Linked DNA regions of Homo sapiens: region 2 is linked to region 1. The links are contacts of gene promoters, found by promoter capture Hi-C in human tissues and cell types (Jung and others, 2019). All regions are on one chromosome and are shown on one strand. Each heading gives the region's core, a stretch centred on a gene start or on the middle of the fragment in contact. The rest is flanking DNA. Distances are from core to core; before and after follow the strand shown.

Region 1 (4,772 bases), core at 1,499-3,998:
ATCTCCAGCTCATCTTGTGCTGGTGACACAGGTTCCTGCCCCGGGAGGCCCAAAGGCGTTAACAACTCCCCACTCTTCCTAGACCCTGGGGGCGTCAACCATCCCGGGACTGTTCTTTAACTCTTTTAACCCAGTGGTTTGATTGTGCGCCCCAGGGGACATTTGGTGACGTCTGGAGACCTGGTTAGTTGTCATAACTGAGGAGGTGGAGGGAGTGCTACAGGCATCTCATGGGGAGAGGCCAGGGATGCCACCACCATCTAACAATGCACTTTCAGTCCCCACCACAGAGAACTGGTGGAGGTGGGGAGCCTGCTCTAGCCCTAGCCCTCCTGTCCTGGCCCCTCTTGGCCACCTGAGGATCAGCCCCACACATTCAACTTCCTTTAGTTCCTCGAATGCCCCCAGGCTCTCTTACGACAGTTATGTCAGTTATGACAACTAACCTCTGGTCTCTGCCTGGAGTCCTTTTCCTTGGATGCCCTTCACCCTGGATGACTCCTACTTAACAACTGGGTCCCAGCTCAGGTGTCACTTCCTCCAGGGAGCCTTCCTGGTATGCTCCTACAGCCCTTTATGCTTCCCCATCACCACACTTGTGACACTGTCTCAGTCACATCACCTTGTCTATACTAGGAGCTCAGGGCTGACTTGTTCACAATACCCCGATGCCCCACATACAGGACATGACACATTCTATGTCTGTCTATCCAGTTAACAAGCATTGAGGAAGACGGCCAGTCTGTCTTACCTGGAGAGGCCTTGGTCTTGGCCACCAGCAGCGTCGCGCCCCTGGAGGTGATGCTGAGCTCCGTGGACGGGCTGGTGCACTTGGTGGCGGCATGCTGCGCCCTGTCCGGTTTGCTCCTGAGCAGGTAGAGGCCTTTGAGCACAGCCAAGCACTGCTCCTCCACAGCCCCCAGCGGCAGCAGCAGGGCCAGCAGGGACCCCAGCACCATGCTCAGCAGCGTCACCCAGAGGAAGCGGCTCCAGACCGAGACCCATTTCGGTTCAGTCACCGCCATCACTGAAGCCATTGGTATGAGCATCATCTGGACTCAGGAGAGGGCCCTTTGCGCATGTCCACAGGCGGCTGAGAGAGAGCAGGATCTGCAAGGAGCCAAGAGTCGCAGGAGAAACAGACACGTTCAGGACATAGTGTGACTTCAGCTGGGAAGATGGGTTTGGAGACTTCTGCTCTTTTAGCTCACTAGAGAGATGGGGTGGGGGCAAGTCAAGGACTGGATCTCACTAGAGGAGGGGCCAGCCTAGAAGGACTGGTGCCACCTCCTGGGCAGTATGAATGTGAAAACACTGCTGTGGTCCAACAATTAATGAGCACTTGCCATAATCCAGGCCGTGTGCTAAGCACCAAATGCCTCACATGGGTCACCTCCTGCAATCTTCAACGACTTGAGCTGATGTTTTCACCCTTCTCCAGGTGAGGGAACTGAGGTTCAGAGAGGTGAAGTCCCTTGCCGAAAGTCTCGCCGGGAGCAAGTGACAGCCTTAGGACTTGAACTCAGGAACCCCACGGCTCTAAAGTGTCCCCCCTTCCCATATATCCCTGTGGCTTCTGACCACAAACACTGGATTTGTGGACATATGTCAAACATTTGGGACATAAATGACTGACAGACACCCAGGCAGATCAGCCACAGCAGTTCTGACGCCCAATCTTTGATAAGCACAATTGTTGGGTGGCCTCATTTATTGCCCTCACCCTGATATTCAGCCACAGCTCCCACAGTGCCCTTCCCCTCTCTGGCCTTCCATTTCTGGCCTGTCCAGAAGGGACCCCATCAAGAAGATGAGCAGTTCGAGCATCTCGAAAGGAACTCAGGCTGTGGGCCACAGTGCTTGGCCTCAGTGACAACATGGCTTGTATGTGCTTGGGGCTGGCAGTGGGAGTGGAGGTGGGGCCAGGCATGCAAACACTATGCTAACAATAAGCACTTATTAAGCAACTATGGTGTCCTAGGTGCTGAGCAGTGTACTGGCCACGCATTGCCTCGTTTCACCCTCATGCCACCCTATGAAGGAAGAGCTACCGCTAGCTCCATTTTACAGACAAGGGAAACCAAGACACAGAGAGCATAAGTTAAATTCCAGAAGGCCCACAGGAGGTAAACAGAGGCATCCGGAAGGAAACCCCAGGGCCTCTGAACCCGGTCCCCAGGTCTCGATTTCTACCTTATTACTAAGCAGGGCCTGTGCACCTGCTCTGGGCTGGTCCTGACCCGGGAATGACTGATGGATCACGGGGTTCTGAGTCTCATGGGGATCCTGGCCCATTGCCACAGAACATGTGAAATGGCTTGGGGTGCGCTTTAATAGGGGTGCGCCTGGAGTGCTGCGCGGGTCCAGGGGTCTGGGCGGGCTTCCCGAGGGGACAGGCTCCTGGGCGGGGCGGTACAGGAAAGGGGGCAGTTCGCCGGTGCCAGGGGTGTGTGCAGGGAAGGAGTGCGTTCTGGGAGGCGCGAATCTCTCCCCCACACTTCCCTAGAAAGGGAGAACTGAGGCCCGGAGAGGGGAGGGGACCGGTCTGAGTCCCCTCCAAGACTGCAGAGCCTCCCTTCCCGAACCCCGCCCAGGGCTCGCGGCCCCGTCGCACCCTTCCCGGCTTCATCCTCTCGAGCCCCTAGGGCTTTTCCCCTTCTCACCGCGCGCAGCTGTCAGAACCCCAACCGCCTTCCCCGCGCTCCCAGCTCCGGGCCGCCGGCTCCCGGGTCCTCCTTCTCCGCCGGCCTCTGGCCCCGCCCCCGGCGACTTGCCATTGAACCGCCCGCAGCCCTCGTCGCGGCGGATTGGCTTTCCCCACTTGTCCTTCCCTCGCATTTCCGGGTTCCCGCGTCCGCGTCGGCTTCCCCGGGAAAGACGCGCCGTGGGCCACTCCCATTGGTTGTTGCTTGCGTTTGTCTCGTTCACGTAGCAGCCAATAAGCAGCGGGAGGGGCGGGGCCTAGGCCACAGGCAGGAGGAGCAGGTGCTGGAAACCCGATGGGCGTGCGGATTTGGGGCACACTAGGTGGCGGGCCCGGAAACTGGAAGTTCCACGGCGGTCTTTTCCTCGGGTCTCTTCGTCCCGGAGCCGCTGTCGTGTGCCTCATTTTTCCCGGTTGTGAAATGAAGATGCTGATGCTTTTCACCCCTTCACCCGGTTAGCCTGCTTGACTGCGCAGCCCCTGTTCTTAGCCTCCACCCCATGCTGCTGAGTTTGCCGCCTTCTTCTTCTTTACTCTTTTCCTCTCTGTGTCTTTTCCTCCCTGACTTAAACAACTTTTTTTTTTCTTATAAAATACAGGGTCTCGTTGTGTCGCCCAGGCTGGAGTGCGGTGGAGCAATTGCAGCTCACTGCAGCCTCCACCTCCTGGGCTCAAGCAATCCTCCCATCTCAGCCTCCCGAGTAGCTGGGACTACAGGTGCATGCCACCATGCCCGGCGAATTTTCTTTTCTTTTCTTTTCTTTCTTTCTTTCTTTTTTTTTCTCTCTCTCTGTCTTGCTTTCTTTCTTTTTTTTTGAGACGGAATCGCACTCTGTTGCCCAGGCTGGAGGGAAGTGGCACGATCTTGGCCCACTGCAACCTCCGCCTCCCAGGTTGAAGCGATTCTCCTGCCTCAGCCTCCCGAGTAGCTGGGATTACAGGCGCGCATCACCACGCCCGCCTAATTTGTGTATTTTTAGTAGAGATGGGGTTTCACCACGTTGGCCAGGCTGGTCTCGAACTCCTGACCTCAGAAGATTCGCCTGCCTCGGCCTCCCAAAGTGCTGGGATTACAGGCGTGAGCCATCGCGCCCGACCTATTTCTGATTTTTTATTTTCTTTAGAGACCGGGTCTCACTATGTCGCCCGGGCTGGTCTCGAACTCTTGACCTTAAGCTCTCCCTCCATCTCGGCTTCCCAAAGCGCTAAGATTACAGGCGCAAGCCACCCCCTCGGTTCTCCCTGACTTTTTAATTTGTATCCTCTCCAGAAGGACCTGGCTAGTTCTTTTGGCTTCCCAGAGAGAAATTTTTTCCTTGAAGCAGAGAATGGAAACCTCCATCTTAATCCACAAATACTGAAATTAAACATCTAGGGAGGTGCCCCAGAAACGCTAAGCATTTAGAAGTTAGCAGTTCAGATTCTGGGGAGTCAAAGAGACCTGAGCTCAAATTCAGACTTTGCCATTTACTCTCCGTGTCACCTTGGGCACGTTACTCCTAGCCTCACTTTCCCCACTTGTAAAATGGGGACAAACAGCCTACCTTGCTTTTGGCATCCAGTTCAGGATTTGCAGAAGGCTTGATGCTTCAAGATCTGACCTCCTCTGTGACGTGTATTGCTCTTGGAGGCAGGGCTAGGTGGTGGTTGTGGGGTGTCACTGTTGGGAGTCACACAGACCTGGGTTCAAATCCCAGTTCTGCCCCTTGCAAACTGAATCACATTCAGCAAGTGACTTGATCTTGTTGATCATCTGTCTAGGCTTTTCTGTAAACTGTGCACAGTGTGATGATATTACCACTTCACAAGGTTTTATGTGAGGGTGAAATGAGATTCTATACATCTGGCACAGAGCAAACTATCTATCTATCTATCTATCTATCTATCTATCTATCTATCTATCACCTATCTATCTTTTTTGAAATAGGATCTCACTCTGTTGCCCAGGCTGGAGTGCAGTGGCATGATCTTGGCTCACTGCAACCTCCATGTCCTGGGTTTAAGTGATCCTCCCATCTCAGCTTCCCTAGTAGCTGGGACTACAGGCACACACAGGCTAATTGTTTTT
Region 2 (4,772 bases), core at 1,437-3,936, 580 kb after region 1:
GCTACAAAGGAAAACTGAAGTGAGAAAAGGTAAGACAGATAAGGGAAAAACATGTTGTCCAATGTTTTCAGTTCATTGATTCCATGCTGGCCCCAGGGTATGAATGAGTAAACGTGACTTTTTCTCCATTCCTACTGTGAGTGAAACACCTGATCCACATTTGGAGTTAGAAAAAAGCATACAATTTTATTAACAGTAACTGAGTTTTCCTGACACCCAACAGATAGATGATGAATAAATATTAAAACATAACGATAAAAAGAGTGCCAAATTATGAGCCTGCCTGGGTAACCCATAGGTCTCACAGCTGGGCTCTGCATCAGGCTCAGGAAAGCTCTGAATGACTGTGAGCTGCTATTGTCATTTTGGTAGTAGTGGTGGTCGTGGCTGTCTGATTAGTAGACCACTGCCCCCATGGAATCATTCTCTATATTTAAAATGAGTAAGTCTTATGTCCACAGATCTAATTTCTTCAGCCCATGTGGTCCAATGGGGGGGGAATGCAGCAGAGGCATGAAACCAGATGGCTACTTCTCAGTAAGCAATGCTCATCACATTTTCAAAATGGAAACACTTAGGTGTTCTGAATCAGACCTTTGGATCACATCCAAAGTGGAACTTTCTTCCCCCAACTCTACAGTTGCTGCACTTGTACAGCAGCATCAGGGCAGCCATGGTATTTGGTGCAATCACCGTGGAAAACTTGATTTCAAATGCAGAAAATCCCTGACTAATCATAAGGTCCAAGGAAGTAGAGATTCTGATTAATTAATTTTCTGGTCAGCTGAGTGCTAATCAGAAAATCTTTGGCATTTTAGCCCCTCTGGCTCATTATCTTTCAGGAGGTGTGGTGGTTCGCTTTTGTTCTGAATCCAGGTTCTATCACTGAGGAGTTATGCAGCCTTGGGCGAGTAACTCCATGTCTTAGTTATCTATTGCCACATAACAAATTACTTCAAACTAAGTGGCTTAAAACAACACACAATTGTTATCTCACAGTTGCCATGAGTCAGAAGTCTAGGTGTGGTTTTGCTGGGTCTTCTTCTCAAGATCCCACAACACTGCATTGAAGTGTTAGCAGGCTCTCTTCTGAGCCCAGGGTCCCCTTCCAAGTCCATGTGTTTGCTGGAAGAATTCAGTTCCTGCAGTTTAAGACTGAGGTTCCCATTGTCTTGTCAGTTGTCAGCTGGGCCACTCTAGGTTGGTAGAGGGCGTCCACTGTTCCTTGTGAATGGGCCCTTCTCACAATGTGTTAACTTACTTAACACTAACTTGTTTAGGGTTCACCATGATCTTCTGAAGTAAATGCAATTATTATTCCTGTTTAGCAGGTGGGGAAACAGGTTTAACAAAGTGCTGTGATTGATATGAGGAAATCAATCTATCAAATGGCAAAGCCCAAATCAAAGTCAAATAGGTCTGGCTTCAAAGCATGCACACGTAATCACTGCAAGATGCTGCCTCGTGTTTGTCATGTCTTATTAAAACTTAATGGCTATTTTGTCTTTTTGTTTCAGAGTATATCTCATTCACACTGGGTATAGAAGTTCTTGGGAAAAAAGTCATTTCTTAGGCATGTGTGTGCCAAGTCCATAGCATAATCCCTGGCACATATGGGTAATTAATAAATATTTGCTAAATGGAGGGATGAACTGGGTGCATGCTGAATGTTTGGATGGATGGATGAATAGGGTGGGTGCCTGTGTAGGAAATGGTTGGTGGATGGTGAATGGATAGGATTGGGGCTAGGATGGGTGGTTAGTGGATAGATGGATGACATGGGGTGATAGATTGGGTAGGTGAGTAGTGAGGGAATGGATAGATGAATGTGCAATGGATGCATGGGTGGCTGTGAGGTTGGGTGGTGAGTAGTGAATGGGAAGATGGCAGATGGAGCAGGTGGAGGAGTGAATGGAATAAAGGTTTCATAGTTGATAGGTGGGTGGGTAAATGGATGGATAGGTGGGTATATGGGCTTGAAGGGGAATGAGGTAGATGGAAGAATGGATGGATGGAGGATGGGATGTGTAGTAGGTGAGAAACGAGGAAGGTGGTTGGGGGGAGGGATGAATGAGCAGCTAGATTGGTGGTGAATAGGGTTGGGCATGAGGTAGGTGACAGTGGAAACAGATAATAGCTTCTCTCGCATTTGAATAGCTTCCTGAAATCATCTCTACTTTTCTTCTGTAATCATCGTATATTGTACATATCACTTATCTACAAGAGTTAGGCTGACCCAAATTCACCATTGAATTGAGACATATAAATCTATATTTAGATTTAATAATTCACAAATCCCAGGATATTACAGGGTTTGGCAAACTCTTGTTTCTCCAGAATGGAGTGAAATGAATGGCTGCTTAATTGGTGGATGGCACCAGAAGAGGGACCACCAGCAGGGTGATCCAAAGAGAAATCTCCTTCCCCGTACAGCCCGGAGCCCTGGAAGGCTGAGAGATGCCTCAGTTTCTACCTGCCTGGAAAGAAGAATTTTGTTTTTCCAAGATCTAATGGAATTCCACTGACAGAAGAACTGTGCATAGCCTGCCAAATACCAGGGGTGGGTGGCTGAGTGCTGTGGCATCAGCTACAGCATTAGGTGCCACCCCATTCTAGAGTCAGTCTTACCCCTGACCTCACTTAGGAAGTGTATAGTAATGAATTTATTAAGCATTAACAAAGTACTATGCTAAGGGCATTCATGGATATCCCATTTAATTCTCAAAAGTTGCTCTAGGATCTGGTGCTAAAATGATCTCTGCTGGCTCAGGAATAAGGTCAGGTCCTCTGTTCAAGGTCACACAGCTGCTAAGAAGATAAGTTGACCTTTATAACTTAGATCTGATTTCAAAACTCTTTCTCTGCACTTTTGTGCTAAAGTGTTCCTGTCAAAGTCAAATTTTTTTGACTAGCAAAAAAATTGGAGTGCACAGGATGGAGCTGGGACTCCTGTGAATGATACCCTAGAACATATGGTTTCGCTAAAGATGTTGGGAGCCAACAGGAGGAAAAAGTAACGGGAACAGACAGAAGAAAATATTCCCCGAATCTCTCTCTCAGCCATGACAATTTTGGAAACACTTCCAAAATGTGGCTGATGGATTAAGAAGGGCAAAAATTCTGAAATAATTGGGTTCTTCAAGGAAGCCCTCTTGGCTAACTTCACTGAGCTTCACATCCCAAAGAATGTTCCTGGTGACCACGCAGAACAAGGGAAATCCAGGAGGCCAAGAAAGAGTTGGGAAGAAGATGCCCAAAGGGCCATAGATGGAGCCCCTGGGCAAAGGTCTTAGAACAGTTATTTGTTAATATGTGAGTCCAACATAACCCTCCTTCCCCCTTAATTGCACTGGATATGATATGATTTGGATCTGTGTCCCCACCCAAATCTCATGTCAAATTGTAATACCCAGTGTTGGAGGTGGGACCTAATGAGAGGTGACTGGATCATGAGGGCAGAGTTCTCATGAATGAGTTAGCACTATCTGCTCAATGCTATTCTCCTGATAGTGAGTGAGTGAGTGAGTTCTCATGAGATCTGGTTGTTTAAAAGTGTGTGGTACCTCCCCACTCTCCCTCTTGCTCCTGCTTTGGCAATGTAAGACATGCCTGCTTCCCCTTCACCTTCCACCATGATTATTTCCTGGAGCTGCCCCAGAAGCAGATGCCACCATGATTCCTGTACAGCCTATGTAACTGTGAGCCAATTAAATGATAATTTTTTTTATAAATTACCCAGTATCAGGTATTTCTTTACAGCAATGCAAGAATGGACTAATACAAGATAATTCCCGTTTGCCCTTCCACATCCACTCTCCATCCTTCCCTACCATGTGCTGTGCCCCAGGGAGCTGGTCTTCAGTGGTTCTCTAATTGACTCCCTTCCTCTCCACTTCTAGTTGAGTTCAGCCAATGGGAAGCACCAAGAGGAGACAGAAGGAGGGGAAGGGAGTGTGGATGAGCTGTTGACTTCCCCGCTTGAAGGCCACAGCTCCTCTGAGGCAACCCAATCCAGTAACTTCATCTCCCTGCACCCATTATAATCTGGGGGCAGGAGTTAGTTTTTACTGCATTACAACCTCAAAACCTCAGTGGCTACAGGAGCAAGCATTTATTTCTTTGCTTGAGGATTTGTAGGAGGTCTTTGGTGCTATTGGGTTCAGCAGATCTTGGTCAGGCTGCCAGCTGGGCTCAGATCTGCTCCATGGGTCTACTTATTCCAAGGCCATCAGATACCAAGAGCATGTTCTTCTCATGGCAAATGATAGAAGCACAAGAGGGCGAGCCAAGCCATGCAAGCATATTTCTAGCCTCTGCTCCAATCACTTCCTACTTTGTATTCTATTGACCCAGGCAAGTCATATGGTCAAGCTCACAACAAATGGGATGGGCAGGTTCATTCTTCCTATTCTACTGGGAGGTATTGCAATGGTTCGAAAAGAAAGTGCTGGAACAATACTCTTATTGACTCCACAGTGGCCATGGCTCCCCACTGGTGTATTCCTGGCATTCAGCATTCATCTTGTTTTTCCAGAGCCCCATCCACATATTTGTAAATAGATCATGCATGTATAATTTTAATGGTTGTTTTATTATTTAAATATGTTTTGGTGTCATTAACTTTTGTATTAAACTCTCCTCAAATTACCCAATTTAAGGGTGTTAAAAACATTAATTTATCATGCAATTGAGCCGATGTTAACAGAGAGCTTCCTCTGTGCCCTGTTTGGGATGGATGAGAATCAGATTGACAAAAATGATGCCCTCTTCTT

What was found. The method cuts DNA at HindIII sites, captures the fragments that hold promoters and counts their contacts. A contact is called where the count stands out against the background at its distance.
Region 2: a contact is called between a fragment that was not itself captured here and the fragment with the promoter of FICD in region 1, in 1 of the 25 tissues and cell types used here (lymphoblastoid cells).

What each region holds. Positions count from the first base shown.
Region 1 is chr12:108,513,253-108,518,024 of GRCh38, reverse strand. It overlaps FICD (FIC domain protein adenylyltransferase), which reads right to left and starts at 2,748. Exons shown (of 3, transcript NM_007076.3): 1 at 2,664-2,748; 2 at 752-1,110. The coding sequence starts at 1,052. RefSeq lists enhancers at 313-813, 1,026-1,125, 814-1,314, 3,217-3,276. The HindIII fragment of the contact is 17,239 bases long and covers 1-4,772 here.
Region 2 is chr12:107,932,589-107,937,360 of GRCh38, reverse strand. No RefSeq gene overlaps it. Among named protein-coding and RNA genes, the nearest start is that of ASCL4, 160 kb to the right of the region's middle. The HindIII fragment of the contact is 5,919 bases long and covers 1-4,772 here.